Regions from separate parts of the Homo sapiens genome. Here regions 2, 3, 4 and 5 are each linked to region 1. The links are contacts of gene promoters, found by promoter capture Hi-C in human tissues and cell types (Jung and others, 2019). All regions are on one chromosome and are shown on one strand. Each heading gives the region's core, a stretch centred on a gene start or on the middle of the fragment in contact. The rest is flanking DNA. Distances are from core to core; before and after follow the strand shown. Region 1 holds the start of SLCO3A1 (solute carrier organic anion transporter family member 3A1). Region 2 has its middle 120 kb from the start of CRAT37. Region 3 has its middle 64 kb from the start of CRAT37. Region 4 overlaps LOC107984778 (a long non-coding RNA gene). Region 5 has its middle 110 kb from the start of CRAT37.

Region 1 (2,926 bases), core at 172-2,671:
ATCAAACTTGCTCAGGAATACTCAAAGTCTATGACATTTGATTCCAGTTGCGGGTCAATAGCCAAGTAATGATTTAACACTATAAACTCTCAAAAAAAATTTCCCGTTTAGACAGGACTGTACTTAGGTGTGGAAGCACGCTCTCTGGAACTCAAGTTGCGACCACCTGAGCAGAGGAGGCGAAAGCGACAAAGTAGGTACCTGACAGTGCTGAGTCATTACAAGCTGTTTCCTCTGAAATGTTACGCACCCATGGGCCCTCTGAGCATTAACATCCCCTTTCTGGAGGCAAATAAAATACATATTCATTGTGGAAAATGGTGCAACCTTCTGTAGGCGACAGACCACGATGGGGAATTTAGCACTAAGAGTGGATAGCAGGAACTACACAAACTCGCAGCTGCTCTCTAGGTACCGTAACTTTATCCCAGACGCTCAAAGAGGGCTATAGGGATACCGGGTGGCAATATTCCCCCTGCAGCCCCGGCTCAGGCCAGGGCCACACTAGGGCGCATTTCACTCTAAGCTGTTATATCCCCCTGTAATTGGCGGATGTAGAAAGCGCCCGGAGAAAATGATGCATAATAGATTTGTTCTCGAGGAGGATGCAATGGAGAGTAGAGGACGCAGGATGCTAACTGGTTTTTCTTCCCATGTGCAGGTCACCTGAAAACCCCGACGCTTTTTCGTTCCTCTCCAAGGAGAACCCTGAACTCACCGTCTCGCTCCGCTCTTATGGGGGGAGAGGAATAGTTTCACGCCCACCTGCCCGCCGCCTCTCCTCCCCCGGCACCCCCTGCCCCAGCCGGACGCGCGCGAGCTGCTACCGGCATCAACGGTCCCGCCCGCTACCCGCTCGCTGGCAGCCCCGGCCGGCAGCTCCCCCGGCGGCCGCCTCTGCACCACTCGCCAACCTCCACGCCGGGCCGAGGTCATGCCCGCCTGCCCCCAGCGCCGGGCGGCCCCCTCGTCGGGCCAGGCGGCCGCTCGAGAGCCGGGCTGGGGAAGGGGCCCGCGGCGGAGTTGGCTCGGGGACTCACCAGGTAGGCGCCCACCGTGCCCTGCGCCAGCATCAGGGCGCACTCGGACACCAGGAAGATCTTGATGTTGGAAAAGCAGGACACCTTCTTTTTCTTTTTCTTGTTCCTCTGCGCCTCGTCCCCCTGCAGCTCGCCGCTCCGGCCGCCGCCCGACGAACCGCCCGGCTTCTTCCCCTGCATCCTTCCCCCGCCGCCGCCGCCGCCGCCGCCGCTGCCGCTTTCCCGCTCGCCCCGGGTGTCGGGGCCGCTGCCGGGCGGGGGTGCGCGCCTCGAGGCTGCGTGCTGTCCCCGCCCCGGGTTCGCGGCGGCCGCCCCCGTCCTGCCGGGGCTGGAGAGGTGGAAGGCACAGCTCCTCGCCGCCGCCGCCGCCGCCGCGATCGCCCCTTCCTCCTCCTCCTCCCCCGCCTCCGCCCTCCCCTGGCCTCCTCCTCCGGCTCCGGCTGTGCCAATCACAGGGGCTCGTCGCGCCGCCCGCCGCCGCCGCTGCCTCGCCTCCCGCGGCCGCCCGCCGCTGCCATCGCCCGGTTCCCCTTGCCCGCCGGCCGCGCCTGCTCTCACCCCCTCAGCCCCAGCCCCAAGGCCTGGGCCTGGGCCGCCGCTGCGCGCCCTCGCCGAGCCGCTCCTCGCTGCCGGTGCGCCCCCGGGGAGGCACGGGAGGCGGGCTTGGGATGCGGAGGGCGGCCCGGCGGCCGAGGCTGGGAGGGTCCGGCTGCCGGGAGAACTGGGGAGACCCGGAGTCCTTGCGGAGTAAGGGGGGTGCCCCTGAGGGCGGGAGGCGGCGCCCGGCCCCTAGGTGGCGCTGCGGGGCACGGGGCCCCGCGGCGGAGACTGGCGGCTCTGCGCCGGGCGCGGAGATGGGGTGCGGAGGCGCCCCCGCGGGGCTGGGACCCGGCGCTCGGGAACCCGGGTGCCCAGGCCTCAGAGGGCAGGCTGTTCCCAGGAAGGGAGAATACTGAGTACCCAGGAAGGGCTTGGCGCGCGCTCTTCTCCGCCCGGGGATTTCTGGGGACAGATGTTGTGCTCTGGGTCTTGGGGAGGTGCCAGAGGTCAGAGCTGCTTGAGGCTTCTGCCGCCTGCCGGTTTCTGCCCCAGCTGTCCCCGGCCACAGGGGGTGTTGAAAAGGCCCCAGACCGAAAGGACAGAAAGGGGAAGTTAGAGGAATACGTCGGGAGCCCCACGGACCGTTAGTGCCCCAGCCTCGGTGTCCAGGCGCTGCAAGATCGCCGCGGCCCCAGCAGAGGGCCTTCTCCGGCCCTTCATCCGCCCAGGGCCCCGCTGCTGGAGCGCTCAGCAAGCGGCCAGCCGCAGGCCTGCTGGGTCCCCACCCGTCCCCTGGCTCTGTGGCCCTGGCCACCATCCTCGGCCTTGACCTGAATGCCTGGCCCATGGCAGCCGCTCCTAATTACTCCCCACTCTCACCGTTACCAAGGAGTGTGGGCCACAGGGCACTACCAATAGGATCTGCTAGTTCTCAACTGCAGCGTTTGGAAGCTGAGAGAAAAGCTCAGAGGGCTGGACAGGTACCAGGAAACAGCACCTTCCACCTGGGCCATTGGGGGACTCAAGGAATCATTTAAAACGGTTTCCTTAATAATTGTGTCAAAGAAAATGACCCACTCTCCCAAGCGCCTGTGTCCAAATGCAGGCTCAACTTCAAAACTGAATAGCAATGAACCCGACCATATTTTTCCTTTCTCCCGAAGAACTTGAATGAGAATGGAGGGTGTAATGGTGGGGATGTTGTTTTGCCATGGCATTTAAATATAAACTGCTTCATCCTTCTGTGGCTCCAGACGTGATCTCACCCAGGCTTGGTGTCGCTTTGAGATGCCCTCACCTTGTCTAGGCCACCTCCTATCTGAATTGGCTCCCCCCACACTTGAAGT
Region 2 (2,926 bases), core at 318-2,817, 510 kb after region 1:
GGGCTTAACTCTCATTGCCTCTCAGTGGAGGTTGGACCTGAATAAGCAGATATTTGGCTTTAGAGAGGGTATGATATGGTTCCCAAGATGAGTCTGACATTATTGTTTTATACTTATGGTGCTTTTGAGACAAGAGTGCTTTGCATTTTTAAATTAGTTTATCTTAAAAATGCCAGTAGTCATGGGAAAAGAAAGGAGAGACCATTCTGAGAAAGAGAAAGAAGTGAGCAATCATCACATCCAAAACCCTGACGTCAGACACTTTAGAAATTGTGTGCATTGGAGCTGGGTGTTGCTGCAGATACATTGGCAGCTAGTTGTGAAGGTTTGAGGCCAAGTGATGTACTTGCAAGCACAGCTAGTTTCAAACTGCACCAATAATAGTTATGACTGAAAACAGGTGCTATTCTGTCCCAGCACTGTGTTAAGCACTATAAACACATTGTCACAGTAATCTCTCCAATAATCTTATGGAAGATGGCTCTGCTCTCCCTTTTTTTAACCAATAATTGGAACGATGTTACTTCCCTAAGTTTTCAGAGGCAGAGGCAATGCTACATAAAAATATGCTTGTTTACATGAATTAAATCATTTGGTAGAAACAAGAGATTCAGCCACTAATCAGAGCACAGAATTTGAGAGAGAATATAGGACAAAAGAGAACAGAAGGGTCTTGTTGTTATTGGCCAACATCAAAGCACTATCACCCCGTCTTTTTTAGTTATGCAAACCACTCAACAGAATACCTGTGAGCTTTACTTTTGGGCAGTATGCTGGGAGCTCAAACCACTTCTTGATGTGGCTGACATTCCTTAACAATGGGTCTCTCTTGCGTCCAATTATATGGCCACACCCATTTGGGGAAGACAGTGATGATGTGATGGAGTACTCACAGGGTGTGGCATCACAAAGCCTGAGTTTGCATTCAGCTAATAAATGTGCCCAGGGACAAGGACTTCATGACTAAAACACCAAAATCAATGGTAACAAAAGCCAAAATAGACAAACGGGATCGAATTAAACTAAAGAGCTTCTGCACAGCGAAAGAAACCACCATCAGAGTGAACAGGCAACCTACAGAATGAGAGAAAATTTTTACAATCTACCCATCTGACAAAGGGCTAATATCCAGAATCTACAAAGAACTTAAACAAATTTACAAGAATAAATCAAACAACCCCATAAAAAGTGGGCGAAGTATATGAACAAACACTTCTCAAAAGAAGACATTTATGCAGCCAACAGACACGCGAAAAAATGCTCATCATCACCGTCCGTCAGAGAAATGCAAATCAAAACCACAATGAGATACCATCTCACACCAGTTAGAATGGCGATCATTAAAAAGTCGGCAAACAACAGGTGATGCAGAGGATGTGGAGAAATAGGAACACTTTTACACTGTTGGTGGGACTGTAAACTAGTTCAACCACTGTGGAAGATTCCTCAAGGATCTAGAACTAGAAATACCGTTTGACCCAGCAATCCCATTACTGGGTATATACCCAAAGGATTATAAATCATGCTGCTATAAAGACACATGCACACGTATGTTTATTGTGGCACTATTCACCATACCAAAGACTTGGAAGCAACCCAAATGTCCATCAGTGATAGACTGGATTAAGAAAATGTGGCACATAAACACCATGGAATACTATGCAGCCATGAAAAAGGATGAGTTCATGTCCTTTGTAGGGATGTGGATGAAGCTGCAAACCATCATTCTGAGCAAACTATCACAAGGACAGAAAAACAAACACCACATATTCTCGCTCATAGGTGGGAATTGAACAATGAGAACATTTGAACACAGGGTGGGGAACATTAAACACCGGGGCCTGTCATGAGGTGGGGGAGGTGGGTGGGAAGCATTAGGAGAAATACCTAATGTAAATGACGAGTTAATGGGTGCAGCACACCAACATGGCACATGTATACATGTGTAACAAACCTGCATGTTGTGCACATGTACCCCAGAACTTAAAGTATAATGAAAAAATAAAAATAAAGAAATAAATGTGCCCAGGGAACTTAGGGAAAGCAATTAACTTTTCTGATGCTGTATCCTCTTCTATAAAATAGGGCGAATGCTACTTACTTTATAGGACTCATAACCTTCAGTGATTATTATTGGCGTTAATATGTTAACATGATCTCCCTAGCAAGAGCAGTAGAGCTGGTAAGTGGCAGAGCCAGGGTACAAATTCAGGACTAACTCTCCTCCTCTTCATCCATCCCTATTTACCTCTCAAAAGAAGCCAGATATGCTTGGAACATGGATAAGCAATGCCTTCATGGAGTCATATCTCCAGTTATCTACCAGCCCAGTGACCTCCTGTGTGACATTTCAACCCTGACATCTCAAAGTCTCCAGAAAGCAATTCCAGCAGAGACGTGATTGATTCACTGCATCCTCCATCACATTATCTCATACTGAGGACTGTCTGGGTCACCCAGAAAACTTCTATCAGCAAAGACAGATTCAATCAAAAATGAAAACTGAGGCTTAATTCAGCCTGAGGATGAAAATGCACAAACAAAATAATACTTGTGAAAATTACTTTACCGTGCTGTGCAAATATTAGGTGTTGTCCTGAGAGGGAAATAACTCTTTATTCTTTCCCCCAGAGAAATTCCCAGCCTCAAGTAGTGTTTAGTTTTTAGCTCTTATTCAAAAAAATTGCAAATAATGCATGAATCATCAGAGCATTTGCTTTCTGCAGGGTCATTTTTTTCTGTTTCTCCTCTTTCCACTGGCAATGAGGCCTTTTGAAGACTGGCAATTTCCTGATCAGTTGGTTCACTCCTTCATGCCCAGTCAGAAGTTCTTTAGAAAGCAGTGAAACGTGTCTTCTTTCAGTACCTTGAGAAAGGAAAGCTGACATGAGATAACTCAAAATCACAGGCAACTCACTTAACACTT
Region 3 (2,926 bases), core at 129-2,628, 450 kb after region 1:
TCTCTACAAACATTTTACAACTATAGTGTGTCTACAGAGAACTATAAGAGGAACTTGCTCTAAAGGAGGAACTTCAACAACCAAGCCAAGGGTCTGATAATTTTCAACAATATGTTATTCAAGAAAGTGCAGCAAAAAATATTTTTAAGTTAACGGAGGAGAATGACATGAGCAAAATGGCAAAACAGAAGTTTTCAGCACTTATCCCTTCACAGAAACATCAATTTGAACAGCCATCTGTGCATGAAAATATCTTCATAAGAGACAAGGAATCCAGCTGAGAGGTTATAGCACCTTTGTGGAGCAGAGAAATAAGAAAAGGTGCATTAAAGAGAGTAGAAAAGACAGTTTCATATTATCTGCATTACCCTGCCCCAAAACCTGGGCAGTGCAACATGGAAAGAGATACTATATATGTGGGGGAAGGAGAGTAAAGTTAACACCTGACTTCATGGACTCCAATGCCAGGCACGATTCAGTGAACTCAACACCAGGCAGGTTCCTATAGCCACAGGCTACAGGACAGTCCCTGTAAACCCAAGCTCCAGGCTGTCCCCTTACGGCTCTAAGACCCAATGGCTCCAACCTCCATAGCTCTTATGAACATAGGCTCCAGGCCTTCCCCAGAACCAGGCCATTTATGGCTGCCCTAGGCTCCACGCTGGTCACTATAGACTCAGGCTCTGGGCCTGTTTTCATGGACTCAGCACCAGGCCCACCACAGTGAACCCCAGCATGAAGTCAGTATCCACGGCTCCAGGCTCCAGACCCATCTCAGCACCAGGCCACCCACTGCAGCCCAGGATCCAAACTCACTTCAACACCTGGCTGGTCCCTATAGCCCCAGCCAGGCCCCAGGCCAACCCCAATGCCAGGCTGGCCCTCATGGCCCCAGCTCCCAGGGCCACCCACACAGACTCAGGTTCCAGGCCTGTCCCCATGGATCCAGTCATCAGGCCCACCTCAAGAGTCCCCAGTGCCGTACCAGACCTCATGGACCCAGAACCCAGGCCTATACCCATGGACCCAAGCTCTAGACACAACCCCACAGACTCAGGTAACAGATCAGACCCTGTGGACCTAGGCACCAGACCAACATGTACAAGGACTTCAGCAGCAAGTTCACCCATGAACCCTGCTAGCTGAACCACCCAGAATCTCTGGATGTGCTGACTGGTGAAGGGCTTTCCCTGCCAAAAGCAATCTGTCAAGAATGAAAAAGCTGGCTCTTTTTCAAATGTACAGACATCATTACGAGGCTATAAGGACCACAATTAATCAGAGAAACATGACGCTATCAAAGGAACAAAATTAAGCACCAGTAACCAACCCTAAAAAAATAAAGATGTATGAACTGCCTAACAAATAATTCAAAATAATCATCTCAAAAAAGTTCAGTGAGCTATAATACAGGTAGACAACTACATGAAGCCAGAAAAACAATACATAAACAAAATTAAAAATTCAACAAAAATATAGGAACCATTAAAAAAAATAGAAATTCTGGAGCTGAAGAACACAATGGATGAACTTAAAAATTCCACATAGAGCTTCAACTTCAGACTCAACCAATAAGAAGGAAGAATCAATGAACTCAATGATAAGTCACTCGAAAGTACTCGGTCAGAGAAATAATAAGGAAAAAACTTAAAAATTGAAGAAATAATATAGAAATATAGTACACTACTATGCAAAGCAATATACTCATTATAGAAGTTCCAGAAGGAGCAGAGAAAGGAACTTCTCTAATGAATATAAAACTTTTCAAATCTAAAGAGGGAAATAAACATACAGATCCGTGAAGCCCAAAGAACCCTAAATAAATTAAACATAAAATAGTTTTTGCCAAGACATATTATATAATCAAATTCTCAAAATAGACAAAGAATTTTGAAAGCAGCAAGAGAAAAGTGACTCATCACATAAAAGGAAAGCCCTCATAAGATTATCAGTGGATTTTGCAGCTGAAACCTTGCATCCAGGAGAAATTGGAATAATGTATATTAAAATAGTGAAAGAAAAAAAATAATACTATGCCCAGTAAAGCTGGCCTTCAGAAACAAAGGAGAGATAAGGACTTTCTCAGACAAACAAAAGCTGATGTAGTTTGTTAACACTAGACCTGCTTTATGAGAAATGTTAAAAAGGGTTCTTAAAGTTGAAACAAAAGGATGCTAACAACACAAAAGCATATAAAAATATAATACTCACTGTAAAGATAAGAATATACTCAAATTCATAATACTCTGATATGGTAATGGTGATATATAAATCCCTTCTAAGACTAGTATAAAAGTTAAAAGACAGTCACAAAAAAAATACAGCTACAATAGTTTGTTAATGAATACACTATATAAAAAGATGTAAATTGTGACCTCGGTAACATAAAATGTGGAAGGAGGAAAAGTTAACATGTAGATTTTTTATATGTAGTTGAAGTTAAGTTGTTATGAGTTTAAAATAGATTGTTGTAACTATAAGATGTTTTATGTAAGCTTTATGGTAAGCACAAAGGAAAAAGCCTGTAGTAGAAACACAAAACATAAAGAGAAATAACTCAAAGCATACCATCACAAAAAAAATTATCAAATCAGAAAGGAAGACCAGCAAGAGAGGAGTAACAGGACAAAGAAACTACAAAATAGTAAGAAAACAATTAACAAAATGGAAACAGTATACTTTAAGTATAAATGGGTTACTTTACCCAATCAAAAGACGTAGAATGGCTGAATGAATTTAAAAACAATAAGATCCAACTATACACTACCTACAAGAAACTCACTTTAGCTTTAAAGGGCACACAAAGGCTGAAAGTAAAGGGCTGAGAAAAGGTTCTTTGCAAATGGTAACAAAAAGAGAACAAGAGCAGTTATGTCATACAGATAGACTTTAAATCAAAAATTGTCACAAGAGACACAGAAGTGAT
Region 4 (2,926 bases), core at 220-2,719, 400 kb after region 1:
CAGGTAACATATGAAGGAGAATCTATCAGATTAACAGCAGATTTATCAGCAGAAACCCTACAAGCTAGAAGGTACTGGAGCCCTATCTTCAGCTTCCTTAAACAAAACAATTATCAGCCAAGAATTTTGTATCCAGCAAAACTAAGCTTCATAAATGCAGGAAAGATACAGTCTTTTTCAGAGAAACAAATGCGGAGAGAATTTGCCACTACACCAAGCCAGCACTACAAGAATGCTAAAAGGAGCTCTAAATCTTGAAACAAATCCTGGAAACACATCAAAACAGTACCTCTTTAAAGCATAAATCACACAGGACCTATAAAACAAAAATACAATTAAAGATTAAAAAAAAAGTATACAGGCAACAAATAGCATGATGAATGGAATAGTGCCTCACATCTCAATACTAACATTGAATATAAATGGCCTAAATGCACCACTTAAAAGATAACAGAATTGCAGAATGAATAAGAATTCACCAACCATCTGCTGCCTTCAAGAGACTCACCTAACACTTAAGGACTCACATAAACTTAAAGGGGTGGAAAAAGATATTCCATACAAATGCACACCAAAAGCAAGCAGGGGTAGCTATTCTTATATCAGGCAAAGCAAACTTTAAAGCAACAGCAGTTAAAAAAGACAAAGAAGGACATCATTATGTAATGATACAAGGCCTTGTCCAACAGGAAAATATCACAATCCTAAATATATATGCATCTAACACTGAAGCTCCCAAATTTACTACTAGACCTAAGGAATGAAATAGACAGCAACAAAATAATAGTGGGGGACTTCAATACTCCACTGACAGCACTAGACAGGTCATCAAGACAGAAAGTCAACAAAAAAAATGGATTTAAACTATACCCTGGAATAAATGAACTTAACATATTTACAGAACATTCTACCCACAAACCTCAGAATATACATTCTACTCATCAGCTCATGGGACTTTCTCCAAGATAGACCATATGATAGGCTATAAAAAAGCCTCAATAAATTTAATAAAATTGAAATTATATCAAGCACTCTCTCAGACCACAGTGGAATAAAACCGGAAATCAACTCTAAAAGGAACTTTCAAAACCATGCAAATACATGGAAATTAAATAATCTGCTCCTGAATGATCGATCATTGGGTCAACAATGAAATCAAGATGGAAATTAAAAATCTCTTCAAACTAAATTACAATAGTGACATAACGTATCAAAACATCTGGGATATAGCAAAGGTGTAAGAGGAAAGTTCATAGCCCTAAATGCATACATCAAAAAGTCTGAAAGAGCACAAACAGACAATCTAAGGTCACACCTCGAGGAGCTAGAGAAAAAAGAACAAACCAAACCCAAGCCCAGCAGAAGAAAGGAAATAAGATCAGAGCAGAACTAAATGAAATGGAAACAAACAAAAAAAAATACGAAAGTGAAACAAAAAGCTGGTTTTTTGAAAAGATAAATAAAATTGATAGACCATTAGCAAGATTAACCAAGAAAAGAAGAGAGAAAATCCAAATAAGCTCAACTAGAGACAAAACAGGAGATACTGCAACTGACCACAGAAATACAAAAGATCATTCAAGTGTACTATAAACACCTTTATGTACAAAAACTAGAAAACCTAGATGAGACGGATAAATTCCTGGAAAGATACTAACCTCCTAGCTTAAATCAGAAAGAATTAGATACCCTGAACAGACCAATAATAAGCAGTGAGATTGAAATGGTAATTTAAAAATTAACAACAACAACAACAAGAAAAATCCAGGACCAGATGGTTTCAAAGCTGAATTCTACCAGACATTCGAAGAAGAATTGGTACCAATCCTATTGACACTATTCCACAAGACAAAGAGGGAATCCTCCCTAAATCATTCTATGAAGCCGCTATCACCCTAATACAAAAACCAGGAAAGGCATAAACAAAAAAGAAAACTACAGACCAATATCCCTGTTGAACATAGATGCAAAAATCCTTAACAAAATACTAGCTAACCTAATCCAACAACATATCAAAAAGATAATCCACCATGACCAAGTGGGTTTTATACCAGAGATGCAGGAATGATTTAACATATACAAATCAATAAATGTGATACACCACATAAACAGAATTAAAAACAAAAATCACATGATCATCTCAATAGACACAGCAAATTAAACAAAATCCAGCATCCCTTTATGATTTAAACTCTCAGCAAAATCGGCATACAAGAGGCATAACTCAATGTAATAAAAGCCATCTATGACAAACCCACAGCCAACATAATACTAAATGGGGAAAAGTTCAAAGCATTCACTCTGAGAACTGGAACAAGACAAGGATGCCCAATCTCACTACTTCTCTTCAACATAAGTACTTGAAGTTCTAAAAAGAGCAATCAGACAAGAGAAAGAAATAAAGTGCATCCAAATCAGTAAAGAGGAAGTCAAACTGTCTCTGCTGATGGTATGATTGTATACCTAGAAAACCCTAAAGACTCCTCCAAAAAGCTCCTAGAACTCCAGCAAAGTTTCTGGATACAAAATTAATGTACACAAATCAGCAGCTGTCCTGTACACCAATAGCGACCAAGCTGAGAATCAAACCAAGAACTCAACCCCTTTTACAATAGCGGCAAAAAAAAACAAAACAACAACAACAAAAACTTGGGAATACACCTAACCAAGGAGGTGAAAGACCTCTACAAAGAAAACTACAAAACCCTGCTGAAAGAAATCAGAGACAGCACAAACAAATGGAAACATGTCCCTTGTTCATGGATAGGTAGAATCAATATTGTGAAAATGACCATACTGACAAAAGCAATCTACAAATTTAATGGAATTCCCATCACAATACCACCTTTTCCAGTTCTTCACAGAACAATAAAAAAAAATCCTAAAATTCATATGGAACCAAAAAAGAGTCCACATAACCAAAGCA
Region 5 (2,926 bases), core at 197-2,696, 280 kb after region 1:
GTTGATCCCTCCCTTTTCAACAACCAAATTTGTCACTCATCAGCTACACAAGTTGTTGTTTTGTAGAAATTAAGAAAGGAGTTGAATTTCATTTGATACCAAAGTATAAATTTTTTTAAAGGTGTGAAAAACAATTCAGAAGAATCAGAAATTTAGGGCTAGAGGTGACCATGAGAATGCAAGGCCATGGTATCCAGAAACATTTTGGAAAGGGCATTGGGCTTTTGTAAGGCAAGAGGATGGGCCATCTTATTCAGATCTGTAGAGAAAAGGAGACCTTTTTTGGAGAGAGATGGATCAAGGTGGAGGTGGAGGTAGGGCGACCACATAATCTGGTTTTCCTAGAATAATTTCAGTTTATCTCTGTCGTCCTGAGGTCTTGTCTATTTTTGTGTTTGCCCAGACTTCATTTTCTCATAAAGTATTATTATTAACAGTTACAGCAACATAAGCTGGGTGGATTTAATAGATTTTTCACTTTGTATCTTCACCTTCACTCATGGCTTCTAGTATGTGGGACACAAATGCAAATAATTAAATCTACATATTTTTCCAGCTGCAACAAACTTGAACCTTTAGGATCAATTGAAGATTCTATTTTAAGAAGACTGTACCTGCAGACAAGTTATTACCATGTGCCACTCTGCACACAGTGTATTTACATATCACACTGAAGCATGATTTCTCATTCAGATCAAACAAAATAATCACATTTAGCTTAGACACTTCTGAAATAATTTTTCTTACTTTTATTCCAACTTTTCTTGTGCCTATAAAAAAGTAAAGCAACAGCTGTTAATGTGTTAATACCATTAATAGAAGAAGACCTTTGCAAGCATGAGATGCTTCAAATAGAAAATGAGTTGGGGTGAGTCCTTAAGCGGTTCAATTTTTCCACCTAATTTATGAAATTGTAACAAAGCTTTTTGAAATGCATCCTATCAAAAGTGAATCATTTTAAATTCTCGTAAGTGCATTGTAAAGTCAATTTTAAAATTAAACATTGATGGAAAAGTTGTTGGTTTTTGAGATAATACTACAAATACAAATTTTGGTGGTGGAAAGCATTATTAAAAATATTGTTCTACATGAAGGCACCAATGAACAGAAATATTCTGGAATTGGTTGTGATTAAAGTAATGCATAATCATTTCAAAGTAAGCAGTGATATTCTATCAATCAAAAATAAGATGGAGTTCACAAAATTTATACATACAGTTGTCTCTCAGTATCCACAGATGATTGGTTCCAGGATCCCCTGCAGATACCAAAATCTACAGATGCTTAAGTCATTTATATAAAATGCCCTAACATTTGAGTATAATCTATGTACATCCTCCTATACATACTTACATCATCTGCAGATTACTTTACTATGTGATACAATGTAAATAGTTGTTGCACTGTATTGTTTTCAAATGTATATTATTTTTATTGTTGCATTGTTATTTTTTTTTGAATATTTCTGATCTACTGCTGGTTGAATCCATGGATGCGGAGCCTGCTGCTAGGGTCAACTGTATCATACATATACTCAGGGTAAATAAACTACAGAATTTAGAGGATGAGCTGATGATGAATTTAAAATATTTCAGCATTGTAGTTGTGCCTTTGCTCTTTGACACTCATCTTAAATCAGATTTTAGAAATGTTTGAACCATTAGAGATCTATTTTTTAAATCAAACTAGGTAATCTAAAATATTAGGAAGCATATTGTAAATGAGTTCCTTAATTTTTTTAATATTTATTTATTTATTTACTGAGACAGGGTCTCCTTTCAACATCCAGGCTGGAGTGCAGTGGTGCAATTATGGCTCACTGCAGCCTTGACCTCCTGGGCTCAAGTGATCCTCCCACCTCAGCCCCCAGAGTAACTGGGACTACAGGCATGCACTACCACGCCTGGGTAATTTTTGTATTTTTTGTAGAAATGGGTTTTGCCATGTTGTTCAGGCTGGTCTCGAACTCCTGAGCTCAAGCAATCCTCCTGCCTCAGCCTCCCAAAGTGCTGGGGTTACAGGAATGAGCCACCACACCTGTCTGAGTTCCTTAATTTTGTTTGCGTTTTTGGTCAAGGCTTACAACTTGCTTATTAGGTTCACTTCAGGCGACCATGCTATGCCGACCAATCCAAAAAGCTGTTAAGCCCTAAGCTATGCCCAGTCCCAACCAGTTCCTCATCTTGCAGATCTTCCTTAAAACTGTTCAGCCCAGGCTCTAAACTTCTGTAAGTATTCTCCCGTAATTTCTCCTGTTTGAGACACCACTAGGAGTATTGTGGTGACATTCTCCGTCACTGCACAAGGTCCAATATCCTCAACTTTACCTGATCAGCAGGTTTCATTCGCCATCTTAAGTCAAACCTGCCTTTCTTGTATTGTACTGACTTTATCTCTCTCCACCTGGTCTAGTGTCATCAGTTTGGCCTGCATGTTTTTCCTTCTTTTATGAAAAGCGTTTTTCCTCAAAATTAGCTTCACTACTTTTCCCACTGCTCTGCAATATCAACCATACTGCCAACAGAGTTTTCTTTCATCTTTATCCTTTCTAGGGCAGATGAAGGGCTTTATTTAAAGAAAAGGGCTTAGGATCTACTAGAGAATGAAGTCAGGGAAATGCAGAACTCTTTGACCTCTTTCTTTCTTTCTCTCTCTCTCTTTTCTTTCTCTCTTTCTTCCCCTTCCTTCCTCCCTTCCTCCCTCCTTCTTTCTCTTCCTTCCTTCCTCCCTCCTTTTCCTTCCTTCCTTCCTTTCCTTCTTTCTTTCCTTCTTTCCTTCCTTCTTTCTCGAGACAGAGTCTCACTCCGTCACCCAGGCTGGAGTGCACTGGCGCGTTCTCAGCTCACTGCAACCTCTGCCTCCCAGGTTCAAGCGATTCTCCTGCCTCAGCCTCCCAAGTAGCTGAGACTACAGGAACACACCACCA

Evidence for each region. The method cuts DNA at HindIII sites, captures the fragments that hold promoters and counts their contacts. A contact is called where the count stands out against the background at its distance.
Region 2: a fragment that was not itself captured here is called in contact with the fragment with the promoter of SLCO3A1 in region 1 in 2 of the 25 tissues and cell types used here (mesendoderm cells and thymus).
Region 3: a contact is called between a fragment that was not itself captured here and the fragment with the promoter of SLCO3A1 in region 1, in 1 of the 25 tissues and cell types used here (dorsolateral prefrontal cortex).
Region 4: a contact is called between a fragment that was not itself captured here and the fragment with the promoter of SLCO3A1 in region 1, in 2 of the 25 tissues and cell types used here (bladder and mesendoderm cells).
Region 5: a contact is called between a fragment that was not itself captured here and the fragment with the promoter of SLCO3A1 in region 1, in 2 of the 25 tissues and cell types used here (hippocampus and thymus).

What each region holds. Positions count from the first base shown.
Region 1 is chr15:91,852,203-91,855,128 of GRCh38, reverse strand. It overlaps SLCO3A1 (solute carrier organic anion transporter family member 3A1), which reads right to left and starts at 1,421. Exons shown (of 10, transcript NM_013272.4): 1 at 1,041-1,421. The coding sequence starts at 1,220. RefSeq lists silencers at 1,817-1,956, 1,825-1,999. The HindIII fragment of the contact is 13,420 bases long and covers 1-2,926 here.
Region 2 is chr15:91,343,861-91,346,786 of GRCh38, reverse strand. No RefSeq gene overlaps it. Among named protein-coding and RNA genes, the nearest start is that of CRAT37, 120 kb to the left of the region's middle. The HindIII fragment of the contact is 7,776 bases long and covers 1-2,926 here.
Region 3 is chr15:91,397,843-91,400,768 of GRCh38, reverse strand. No RefSeq gene overlaps it. Among named protein-coding and RNA genes, the nearest start is that of CRAT37, 64 kb to the left of the region's middle. The HindIII fragment of the contact is 5,816 bases long and covers 1-2,926 here.
Region 4 is chr15:91,452,000-91,454,925 of GRCh38, reverse strand. The region is part of intron 2 of LOC107984778 (a long non-coding RNA gene); the gene reads left to right. Among named protein-coding and RNA genes, the nearest start is that of CRAT37, 9.9 kb to the left of the region's middle. The HindIII fragment of the contact is 7,286 bases long and covers 1-2,926 here.
Region 5 is chr15:91,573,225-91,576,150 of GRCh38, reverse strand. No RefSeq gene overlaps it. Among named protein-coding and RNA genes, the nearest start is that of CRAT37, 110 kb to the right of the region's middle. The HindIII fragment of the contact is 7,693 bases long and covers 1-2,926 here.